3 separate regions of the Homo sapiens genome follow, and regions 1 and 3 are each linked to region 2. The links are contacts of gene promoters, found by promoter capture Hi-C in human tissues and cell types (Jung and others, 2019). All regions are on one chromosome and are shown on one strand. Each heading gives the region's core, a stretch centred on a gene start or on the middle of the fragment in contact. The rest is flanking DNA. Distances are from core to core; before and after follow the strand shown.

Region 1 (3,834 bases), core at 638-3,137, 370 kb before region 2:
ACCGATACCTAGGTCACTCTCTTTTCATTGTCTGGATGCTTTATGCTCTTCAGCAGTAGAGAAATAATATAATGCAGTGAAAAAAGATGCGGTCTCTCAAGTCAAATGAATTGGCTTTACTTACATGTGTGACATTGAACAAATTACTTAAACTCCGTATCTGTCCATTTCCTCTTCTTCAAAAGAGGAGTAGATAGTACTGATTTGTAGGTGGTTTTAAGAATGAAATGATGACATGTGCTTGCACAGGTCTGGCACCTGGTAAATGTTCCAAAATGTGAGCTGCCATTTTGCTGTTAGTATTGCTATTATGGCCTCTCCCAAGGCTCAGATGTTGCACAAAAGTGTGTTTGAGGCTAAGCAGCCAGTTCTAAATCACTGGATATAAAAACTCATTTTTGATAAGATATTTCAGGAAAAGAGACTCAGGAAGCAGCTTTCTTTAGAATGAAAATATTGGCCTGAGTGATGGCCAGAGAAATAGCATGTGCTGTTATTTGGAAGGTATAAACACAATTTGGAGGTATTTTTTAAAAATATTTGCTGTTTGTTCTCCAGAAACAGAAATAAGACTTTACCCTTTTTATGTTAATCGAGTTTATCCTAGAGGCTCCACTCATTCTCATTAAGTGGGATGGAATATGCCAGTTTCTAATTTGATTGTTTCAGAAACTTATTTTAGCATCATTTTCAATTCTGAATCAAAGAGCCAAATCTAAAATATGCCTCTGTGAGGAGATGGGTAGTTGTCTGCCGTTTGATTTAGAAGAAATCCTCAGATTTTATCACTAGGATTTATCTTCAGATTTAAAACTTAAATATAACTAGAGCTCTATTTGATGCTGTCATAGAGTTCATGCAATGTGCAGACTTATAATAAAATCCTTTCAGTATTTCAATAGCTAAAGCCTTTTAGATAGAGTCTCCATTGAAATTTCCATTGAAATTGCCCCCTATTTGGTTCTACTCTGCATGTAACTTTTCTGGTCTGAGTTCCTCCAATATATGGTGGTAGTACTGTGATCTTGCTAGATTTGATCTGGGGACTCTGCCATAATTCTAACAAACTGATAGCAATGATGCCACTATAATTATCACAATATTTATACTGGGAAAGTATATAAATATACTGCATAGCAATAAGGATTTGCTTAAAAAATAACTGTTATCACTACTGATTTGTAGAAATTGGGTAGAAGGAAAAAAATTAAAAGGGAGAGTGAAGGAATTATCCCTGTAAAATGCACTTTGTGTTCAGATTTATTTTAGTTTTGAAGGCATGCAATTACATTATCTTTTCTGATGGCAAAAATCAAGTTTAGCAATATCTGAACTACTATAAGAAAACTACTCTTTTCTAGCTGCATTTGACCTAATACTGACAATTTGCATTTTTATGCATTTAAAACATTCATACCTAAGTTACTACTGACCTAGTTTTATGGGGTCTGTCTGGAAATATATATCCTTGTCTCAGGATCTCACCACAATAAGAGCAGTACATGGTCTTCTAATTCTTTGAGGATTGTGTTGCATCATGAGAAAATGCACACACACATACACACTTTTTGCTAACAAAAAGGAAAAAGAGAATGAAATTTCCTTTATGCCTCAAAGCATTTTTAACATTCTTCTTTAACATTTTCGATACCCATATTTGGGGAGGGGAAAGGTAAGCTTTGCTGAGAAAGCTCTAAACAGTCTGCTTTTCCAGTTACTGTTTCTTCTCTTTTCTTTCTCATTATGTTCTTTACTTTCTCCCTGCCGACACCGTCTTACTGCTTCCATCCTGCAGCCATTATCACCGTCTCAGGACAGCCATGATCACAGTCTCAGGGTTCCCAGTGCACGAAAGACACAGCCTCCATTTAAAGGTGTCTTCAGGATCCTTGTGATTGGCACAGTTTCTGTCACACCATTGACATCAAAAATCTCAACCTCACCTGGCCTCTTCGGCTTGGATGTGTTCTTGGATATGTTTGGCTGACACAGTGCCTTTTTGAAATGTCCTAAAGATGGGCTTTGTTTTATCTTCTAAGAATGTTTCTGGTCAGAATGACTTTCTGTTGTTCTTTCAAGATCAAGCATGTTCGGTGTCTAGTTTCTTCAGTGACTATTAGTACCATCCAAAATTCCTGTCAATTCTTTTTGATTTGAATGAAGTCCCTTTTGTACAGTGACTCAATATGCTGGAAATGTGGATGTTTCAATTTTCTCAGAATTTTTTAATTCCAGAGCTTTATAAAGTTCTCTACTCCAAATGTATGAAAATCCCTGGATCCCCAAAATAGAAGGAACCTTGAAAGGCCATCTAATCCATTTCCTGATTCATGTCCTAAGATGAAAGTTCATCCTATTTTTCTCAAGCCTTCTCAAATGTCTTATGTAACACTTCAGTTTTTCAAAAATTTCAATTACCACACCACAAACCCCTTATCAGGTCTATTAAGGCCCTGCATTTTAATACTGCCACAGTCTGCTTCCAACAGCCTCACCTTATGGCCAAGGCCACCATGTTGCAGAACCCTAGGGGACTATTTTAACATGAACTCAATAGGAGACTGCCTGGAAGAAGCTTGTTGTACTGCAGCTGCACTAGCCTCTCTCTTAGTTCCTTCAGCATCCCAAGCCCCTTCCTGCCTTGAGGTCTTCACACGTTGTTCCCTCAGCCAGGAATGCTTTTCCTTTTTTTGTCCTTCTTGGGACCTTTACTTCCCTTACACCCTAGCTGAAACATCACCTTCTCAGAAAGTTCTCCCCGGCCACTCCATCTGAAGTCTGTGTTCTGTCCCCCACTCCTTCCCACTTTAATTCTCCCTCGCATTGCCTTGTTTTCATGCCTTCACAGGATTAAATTATTTTAAGTGATTCTTTATTGCTTGTACTCCCCTCTAGACTGAGTTCTGTGAGCTCAGAGACCACATCTGTTTTGTTTCTTCCTGTCTATCCAGCCCCTAGCACCACCTGGCACATGGAGGACTTTTTTCCATGAATGACTGACAGAATACATTGGTCAATATCAGGCCACTTTTCTCATGCTCTTCTGACAAGAATGACAAAGGGCCAGAAGTATAAACTGAGCAGAGCCTGTAATAATGGTGTGAGGCTGGCGGAAGGCCATTTGTCCCAGGTCTCACATTCATTAAGAGCCCCACATTAGGTTTTTGACCTTACCTCTGAATTAAGCAATCCGTAGAGTTACAGAAATATGCTGACAGAATTGAAAGAGGAAGATAACCATCACACTCTAAATTTAGGTCCCATGACTGGCCACAACTCAAGTAAATAGTACACAAAAATTGAATGTAATTATACTATGAGTAGCACATTTCTATTAAGTTATATTTTTGTGTGGTGAGAACATTGGTTCAATGTAAACATCTAAAACATAATTTTTGAATTATAGTTATTTCTTCAGATTTAAATTAACTGCTTCAAAAGTGGAAGTTGCCTAGACCTATCTCAACTTCCACGAGACCCCGAAATGATATGTAAATGAGTGTTTTCTCTACTGGGATTAAATTATCAGAAACTATTATATCCATAGCATTTCTATATTTACTCTAGACACAGATATCAAGCATTTGCTATGGCAAAATTCAATATTAGGTGGTGGCAATAAAGAGAGAAAAAATATATAACCATGCCCACAAAAGACCCACAGCAAGAGCACCAATTATACACACTGAAGTGCTCAATTTGTTCTTTAGAAGATTAATCTGGAAAGAATGCATAAGATGCATGGGACAGTGGTGAAGATTGGATGTATACAGGGGCCTGTCTGAGGGCCTGAACTCAGCTAGGATCAATGGGAATGAAAAGAGACATAAGACG
Region 2 (4,423 bases), core at 385-2,884:
TGCAACTCGTAGGGCTGGTCCCTCCTTATGTGGGTCTGAGGCCCCTGCAGAGAATCTAAGTGACCTTGGGGGCAGGGCACACCTGACTCATTCCTGCCTACCCGCACATTCTGGGCCTTTCCCCGACCACTGGTTCCTCCCATCCCTCCCAGGTGCACAATACTTTGTAGTTTCTGAATTTTCATATCCATCAGTCACTCTACTTTCACAACAACCCAAGTGAGGTAGACAGGCAGGCCTGGGAAATCCCATTTCATAGACTGAGGCTCAGAGAGATTGAAGGACTTCCCTTAAGTTCCCCAGCAAGGAGCCTTCCATGAGATTTTAGGCCTTTTGGCTCTAGGTTCAGTTCTTTTCAATGCTCACTGAGGTACCACTCTCGTGTCAGCCCAATTGGAATAATGAAGAAAAGAAATTTTCTGTCCCACATCCATCCCCCTATCTATCTCCCTGAGCTCACAGGCTCAGGAGGAGCAAGAGGGCATCTTCCACACCTCAGGACGTGGGAAACCTGTGTTTCTGTTAAGAGAGGAGGGCCTAGCCCCCAGAGGCCCCAGTCCTGGTGATGACCCAAGCCCGGCTCACCTACAGGAAGCCCTAAGACATGGTCCGGCGAAGGCAGTCCAAAGCGGAACCTCCGGGTGTTGTGGCTGATTTTCTGATAAAACAAAACATAGGCAGGTTCTGTCAGCTTTCTAGAAGCCTTGCTGGGCAGCTGAGATGCCTGGGAAAGGAGGTCCGTTTGGCGCTATTCCAGCACACACACACACACACACAGGGCGGCGGGGAGTGAACTGGAGGCCATGAGATGACTGTCTGGATGCCCTGCCATCCCAGCCATCATCCACTTACTGCCTTCCACCCACAGGGCTGACCCATTACCTCTTTCTCAATCAAGGGCAGCGGGTACTTGGCTTCAGGGTCCTGTAAGGTGATTGGCTCTCTCCTCCTGGAGTTCATGCTCTTCAGGACCAACACGAGCACAGTGACCCCAGTGACGGTGATGGTCAGGAGCAGGGACGGGTCCTGGCAGACACAATGTGAACAGAGCACCTCAGGTCTTGCCCGCCCTGGACAGGGCAGCTCTCAGGCGCAGAACACCCTCCCCACACCAAAGGCACAGGAGCTGAGCTCTGCCTGCAGGAAATAGGCAAAGAGAACAGTAGTGACACAGAAGGCGGCTGGGAGAGCCTGTCGTGGACCAGAGGGTAGGGAGGGGTCAGCTGCAGGTCACACAGGAAGGATGTTTCAGGCCCCTGGAGCAGGCAGCACACATGGCCTGGGGTGCTCAGGTCACTAGGCCCCTCCTGGCTACAGCCAAAGGTTCATACACTGGAAGTCCCTTCCTTGAGGTGAAGGGGGAGGACATCACCCCTAACACACAATCCGGAATGAGGGGCCCAGTCCCTAAAGACAGAACTAGGGTGCGTAGCTCTAAGAGGTGCCCCGTGACTTAGGGCCTGGGGACTCCCCAACAGTCTCCTGGACAGGGCGAAGGGGGCCTGGGCACTCAACTGCCAGAGACTCGGGAGCCTCCCCGCATCTGTCCCTACCCTACAAGGCCGCCCTGCTCCTCTCCCAACTCAAGCCCGACAGGGAAAGTTGCCTCTCCTCCCGCCGGGTCACTGGAGTCTCAGCCTTCCGGAATCCGAGCCGGCCCGCCCCACTCCCCGCCCTTCGCGGTCCCGCCCACGACCTCTCCCCACGCCTCCCGCTCCGGCCCCCAACCTCCCGGTCGGACGTTCGTTCCCGGCTCTAGCCGGCCTCCGCGCCTCTGGCCTCTTTCCTTCCGGCCGTCCCGACGGAGATATTTCTTCAATACTCCATAAATACACCCCGCCGCGGAACCCACCCGGAGTGAGACGCCCAACACGTCGTCGAACTGGGGTTGGCCGGGGGCCGCTCCCCGCCGCGGGCCCGCAGACTCGTGGCGTCGCCCCGCAGCTCCGCCTGGCCGACGGGGAACCGGCCGAGACCCGGACACGCACGCCCGGGAGGACAAAAGCGCGGGCGGACCCCGCAGGCTGGGACCCCGGCGGCTGGCCCGCTCCCCGAGAAGGGCCGTGGTCGGGGGGCTCTCACTCACGAGCCGCTGGCTCTGGGTCAGCCCTGCCCCCAGGGCAGCGCTCCATCATGAGGCTGGCGGGGCGCTGAGCCGTGGCGTCCTCGCTCCTGCGCTGCCCCTCTGCATCCTGGCCCCTTCCCTGCACACGCAGAGCTGCCACACTGAGCGCCCCTCAGCTTACTTAAGCTCGGCAAGGCTGGAGAAGGCCGTCTGGGTGACCGGGCGGAGGGGGATGCTGGGGAAGGAAGAATTCAGGCAGCTGCAAAGAGCGCGCGAATATATTCATTCGACATACCTCATGGGCGCCTACCCTGGGCCTGGTCCGGGGCGGGTGTTTGCGGGGTGGGGCCGAAGCAGGGGCGTCGCCGAGTTGAAGACGTGTACTCCGAGCGCTCCTGCGTTCATTCATTCGCTGGGTGGAGAGAGGAAGGACAAGAGCCCCGCGCCGATCGGAGGGGAGCAGAATAGTAGGCACAGTTAGAGGGTCTTCACGGTGCGTTTCGGAACCTTGGCTGCCCGGCTCGCCCTTGATTACAGGCAAAGGCAAATTCTTGCCTCAGGACCTGTGTGAAACAGAGAAGCCCAGAAGCAGATCCCCACCTGTTTGACTCTGCTAGGGCTGCTGTAACAAAGTGCCGCAGACTGAGCGGCTTAAACAACAAAAATTTATTGTCTCGCAGGTCTGGGGGCTGGAAGTCCAAAATCAAGGTGTGGGCAGAGTGGGTTCCTTCTGAGGGCTGTGAGGGAAGGATCTGTTCCATGCCTCTCCTAGGTTTGTAGGAGAGGGGCTAGGAGAAGGGGCATCTTCTTCCTATGTCTCCACATTTTCATCCCTCTGTGTGTGTCCCTGTGTCCAAATTTCCCCTTTTATGAAGACACCAGTCATATTCAATTAGGGTCCATCCTAATGACCTTGTTTTAACTTGATTACCTATGTAAAGGCTCTACCTTCAAATAAGGTCATATCCTTAGGTACTGGGGCTTAGGGCTTCAACATAAGAATCAGGGTGAAAACAATAACCCATAACACTTTACCAACCCTTCTCCCCAAGACACACACCACCACAGGCTCAAAAATTCTTGCTGTGTGAATGAATAAACAAACTTAATTTTCTCTCTTTGACTTAATCAAATGCCTTTACTTTTGATTTACCTGCAGGTGCTTGGTTATTATAGGCAGATATTTTAATTTTTGACAATGCGATAAGTGTAAAATGATGTATCAGGAATCCAATTTGCATTACCTAATAACTGCTAATAAGTTTGAGCACCTTTCATATATTTATTTCCCATGGAGTTTCCTTTTCAGAAAAAAAAAAATGCCTGCTCATAAATTTTGCTCATTTTTCTGTTGTCTTTTTCTTACTGATTTTTAGGGGTTTTATATGTTTTAGATATCCCTTCTTTGCCAGTTACATGAATTAGTAATGTTTTCTCGTAATTTGTAACTTATTCTTTCTTTTTTCTTTCTTTCTTTTCTGTCCCACCTTTTTGTGGTGTAGTCTGATGAATAGAAATTTGAATTGCAGTATAACCAAATATACCAATCTTCAATTTTTTTGCCGTTATGGTTAGTGATTTTTGTGACTTGTCTATTTCTACCCAAGCCCTTAAAGATATTCTATATTTTCCCCAACAAGATTTAAAGATTTTCCTTTCACATTTAAGTTTTTCAACCACTTGGAATTGATTTCTGTGTAGGATGTGAGGCAGGGATACAATTTCATTTTTCCATGTGGCTAATGTGTGTTTTTCAGTAACATTTATTGAATTGCTCACATCTGGCCACTGACCTGCAACTGACCTGCTACCCCTGGCCTATATCAGTTTTCATAGGTGTGTGAGTCTAGCTCCGGCCTCCCATTTCTCTTACATTATCTAGCTGCCCAACCTTGTCGCAATACTACACTGTTTTAGTTACGGTAGTTTACAACAAGTGTTTATGTCTTTCATTCTTATACATTCTTTAGATCTCAGGTCAGATATCACTCCCTTGGAGATGCCTGCTGTGATCCCCCAACTTAAGTACATGTACATATTATAATCTGTTAAGTTTAACTTAAAGCTGCCTCCTTAATGTTTTAGTTTCACCCTAAAAGTTTCTTCGTACATAGTGAACTGTAACCTACTCTTGTATCAATCATGGAAGTTTCAGCCCATTATAGGCAGCCAACTGTTCAGACTGTGTTCAGGTAAGGCAAATCATGAGCTGTAACCAATCCCGCTGTTTCTGTACCTCACTTATGTTTTCTGTACATCACTTTCCTGTTTCTGTCCATAAGTATTATGCAACCACGTGGCAGCCCCAGAGTTGCTCTGAACCTATTCTGGTTCTTAGGGTTGCCTGATTCATAACTT
Region 3 (4,397 bases), core at 222-2,721, 430 kb before region 2:
GGAAACATAATGTGTGCCTTGCTGGGTGGCCAGGATTAAATGCAACAACATATATCAAGTGCATGATGGTATATAACAAATGCTTAATAATGATTAGTTATAATCATTAATGTATATCATTCAGGGACATTGTAGGTGACTTCAAAGATCTTTTTCCAAAGGCCTTTTTCTTTTCTTTTCTCTCTTTTTTTTTTGTTTTTGTTTTTGTTTTTTGAGTCAGGGTTCTATTCCGTCACCCACCAAAGGCTTTTTTCGTCAGCATATAAACTGGAGGTTCTCAAATTTCATTGTTCAGAAGCATTACCCAGTGTCTTATTCTGTTTGTACTGCTGTAACAGGATACCTGAGATTAGGTAATTTAAAAAGAAAAAACATTTATTGTCTTATAATTCTGGAGTCTGGGAAGTCTAAGATCAAGGCACTGGCATCTGGCAAGGGCCTTCTTACTGTATCATCACATCGTAGATGGTGGAAGGGCAAAGAGACAAAAGGGGGCCAAACTCACCCTTTTATAACAGCATAATTCTACCCATGCAAGTGGAGCCCTCATGGCCTAATCATCTCATCAACATTCTACCTTTTAATACTGTTAAAATGGCAATTAAATTTCAACATGTATTTTTGTCCAACCATAGCATCTGGGATGCTCTTTACGAAATAATTGTGTAGGTCTGAGTGAATCCGAGGAACCAGCATTTTCATAAGAAATCCAGGCAATTTCAGAAAAGAAGGCAAGTGAACCTTACTTTGGGAAACATTGATAAAAACATTCTGAAGTCGCTCCTATCTTCAAACAGCTTTTCTTCTATGCACTTTTTTTTTTCAGTTACCATCTTCTCTTTGTCCTTCTCTCAAAAGATTTACTTTTACTTCTACTTGGTAGGTCTAAACAGCAAAACTTCCTAACCAGGGCACCAGGGAAGCTTGATGTGCCACAGAATGGGTAATACCTGGGCTGAGACTTTGATTCCTTCTGCCACAGTCCCTGCTGGCCACCAGTGGCCTAGTCCCTTACCCCCATGTGCTGTAAAAAGTTCACTTTCTATCTATGCCACGACAAGTACAAGACTGAGAAGCACTGCCTTAGAGAGCAAGGATCATTGTTTATTTCTCTATATATTACCCAGGACCTGGAAGGCTTCCTGAGTCACAGGGGACTTCCTCTGTCATGCTTTCTGAATCATAGAAGAATACATATTTGTTCAATGAATGAAAGAACAAATAGTTGGGGAAAGGTAACATATTTCAGCTAACTCTACTTCTTCAATTTCCATGTACTTTTTAATCCTGTGTTCAGCTGGTTCCACCCTCACCACTCTACTATAATTGCAGAAGAACAGAGGCTTTGGAGCCACAAAGATGTGGATTCCAGTCCTGTTTCTATCATTTACCAGTTTTTTGCCTATTTCAGATGTCTACTGCTGCATTAAAAGGTTGCTCCCAAACTCTATGACTTAAAACAACCACCATTTTATTGCTCATGATTTTGTGGGTGAGAAATTTGGTAAATGGGGATGGTTCACCTCTGCTTCACTTATTGTCTGCTGTGCTCATTTGTGGGCTGGAAGGTCCAAGTTCGAGAGGTCCATGGCCTCACTCACATGTGTGAGGTCTTGGGCTGGCTGTTGACTGAGGCATCTATTTTAGTCTTCCAGGGCTACTGTAACAAAATAGCATATACTGGGTGGCTTAAACAATAGAAATTTATTTTCTCACAGTCAGAAGTCTGGGAAGTCCAAGCTCAAGGTTGCAGCCAATTCCATTTCTAGTGAGGGCTTTCTTCCTGGCTTGCAGAGAGCTGCCTTCTCACTGTGTCCTCACATGGCAGAGAGAAAGCAAACTCTTTGATGACTCTTTTTAAAAATTATTTTTTATTTCTATAGGTTATTGGGGAACAGGTGGTGTTTGGTTACATGATTAAATTCTTTAGAGATGATTTGTGAGATATTGGTGCATCCATCACCCAAGCACTATACGCTGCACCCTATTTGAAGTCTTTTATCTCCTGCCCCCTTCCCACCCTTTCCCCTGAGTCCCCAAAGTCCATTGTGTCATTCTTATGTCTTTGCATCCTCACAGCTTAGCTCTGCTTGTGAGTGAGAACATAAGATGTTTGGTTTTCCATTCCTGAGTTACTCCACTTAGAATAATAGCCTCCAGTCTCATCCAGGTCACTATGAATGCCGTTAATTCATTCCTTTTTATGGCTGAGTAGTATTCCATCATATATATATACATATATATATACACACACATATATATACACATATATACATATATACACACATATATACATATATATACACGTATACATGTATATACACATATATACACATATACATATATATGTGTATATATACGTATATATACATATATACGTGTATATATACGTGTATATATACGTGATATATATATATACATATGTATATATACGTATATATGTGTGTATATATATATATATATCACAGTTTCTTTATCCACTCATTGATTGATGGACATTTGGGTCGGTTCTGTGTTTTTGCAATTGTGAATTGTGCTGCTATATACATACATGTGCAAGTATCTTTTTCGTATAATGACCTCTTTTGCTCTGGGTAGATACCCAGTAGTGGGACAGCTGCATCAAATGGTAGTTCTACTTTTAGTTCTTTAAGGCATCTCCACACTGTTTTCCATAGTGGTTGTACCAGTTTACATTCCCATCAGCAATGTAGAATTGTTCCTTGTTCACTGCATCCACACCAACATCTACTGTTTTTTGATTTTTTGATTATGGTCATTCTTGCAGGAGTAAGGTGGTATCGCATTGTGCTTTTGATTTCAATTTCCCTGTTCATTAGTATGTTGACCATTTTTTCATGTTTGTTGGCCATTTGTATATCTTCTTTTGAGAATTGTCTATCCATGTCCTTATCCCACTTTTTGATGGGATTGTTTGTTTTTTTCGTGTTGATTTGTTTGAGTTCGTTGTAGATTCTGGATATTAGTCCTTTGTCAGATGTATAGATTGTGAAGATTTTTCTCCCACTCTGTGAGTTGTCTGTTTACTCTGCTGTTTTTTTTTTCCTGTGCAAAAGCTCTTTAGTTTAATTAAGTCCCAGAAATGTATCTATCTTTGTTTTTATTGCATTTGTTTTTGGGTTCTTGGTCACGAAATCCTTGCCTAAGCCAATGTCTAGAAGAGTTTTTACAATGTTATCTTCCAGAATTTTTATAGTTTCAGCTCTTAGATTTAAGTCCTTAATCCATCTTGAGTTGATTTTTGTATAAGGTGAGAGATGAGGATCCAGTTTCATTCTCCTACATGTGGCTAGCCAATTATTGCAGCACCATTTGTTGAAAAGGGTGTCCTTTCCAAATAAAATACTTAGGAATATACCTAAACAAGGAGGTGAAAGACCTCTACAAGGAAGACTGCAAAACACTGCTGAAAGAGATCAGAGATGACACAAACAAATGGAAACATGTCCCATGCTCACAGATGGATAGAATTAATATTGTGAAAATGACTATACTGCCAAAAGCAATCTACAAATTCAACACAATTCCCATCAAAATACCACCATCATTCTTCATAAAATTACAAAAAACAATTCTAAAATTCATATGGAACCAAAAAAGAGCCCACATAGCCAAAGCAAGACTAAGCAAAAAGAGCAAATCTGGAGGCATCACATTACCTGATTTCAAACTATACTATAAGACCATAGTCACCAAAACAGCATGGTAGTTGTATAAAAATAGGTATACAGACCAATGGAACAGAATAGAGAACCCAGAAATAAACCCAAATACTTACAGCCAGCTGGTTTGATGATTCTTATAAGGAAACTAATCCTATTGGATCAGGGCTCTACCTTTATGACCTCATTTACTCTTAATTAAGTCCTATCTCCAAATACAGTGACATCGGGAATTAGGGCTTCAACATAAGAATTTACAGTTCACTCTATAGCAGTATCTCACTTCCCTTCTGTATGATATTCTTTCTCCACATTGTTTCTCATTCTTCTGGACCCCTCTCCAGCAAGATATCCTGTAAAAGTTGCAAGATCTTTTCAAGTCTAGACTCAGCTCAGAATTTCACTTCTACACATTCTGTTGAATAAAGTGAGTCACAAGGCAGGCCCAAATTCAAGCAGAGGGGAACAGACTTGACTTCTTGATGGGAAGAGTGGTAAAATCACACTCCAAAAGGACACATGGAATTGGAGGGATAGCTATGGCTGTCTTTGGAAACAGTCTACCAATTTGTCCTTGAACAAATTGTTTAACCACCTGATTTTACTTTCTTTGCCTGTAAAATAGGAAATATAGCATCAACCACTTTGGGATGTTGTAAGTAATAGATTAAGAAAGTGTGTTTAGCACCTCGTACATTGTAGTAGAAACATAAC

The links. Contacts are between HindIII fragments. The study calls those that stand out against the background at their distance.
Region 1: a contact is called between a fragment that was not itself captured here and the fragment with the promoter of CYB5R2 in region 2, in 1 of the 25 tissues and cell types used here (lymphoblastoid cells).
Region 3: a fragment that was not itself captured here is called in contact with the fragment with the promoter of CYB5R2 in region 2 in 2 of the 25 tissues and cell types used here (dorsolateral prefrontal cortex and hippocampus).

Annotation. Positions count from the first base shown.
Region 1 is chr11:7,303,954-7,307,787 of GRCh38, forward strand. All of the region lies in intron 2 of SYT9 (synaptotagmin 9), which reads left to right. Among named protein-coding and RNA genes, the nearest start is that of SYT9, 54 kb to the left of the region's middle. The HindIII fragment of the contact is 3,938 bases long and covers 1-3,834 here.
Region 2 is chr11:7,671,866-7,676,288 of GRCh38, forward strand. It overlaps CYB5R2 (cytochrome b5 reductase 2), which reads right to left and starts at 1,635. Exons shown (of 9, transcript NM_016229.5): 1 at 1,554-1,635; 2 at 883-1,026; 3 at 586-658. The coding sequence starts at 960. RefSeq lists enhancers at 1,248-1,297, 1,318-1,417 and a silencer at 1,938-2,147. The HindIII fragment of the contact is 10,078 bases long and covers 1-4,423 here.
Region 3 is chr11:7,245,239-7,249,635 of GRCh38, forward strand. It overlaps a transcript of SYT9 not described here. Among named protein-coding and RNA genes, the nearest start is that of SYT9, 4.5 kb to the right of the region's middle. The HindIII fragment of the contact is 9,657 bases long and covers 1-4,397 here.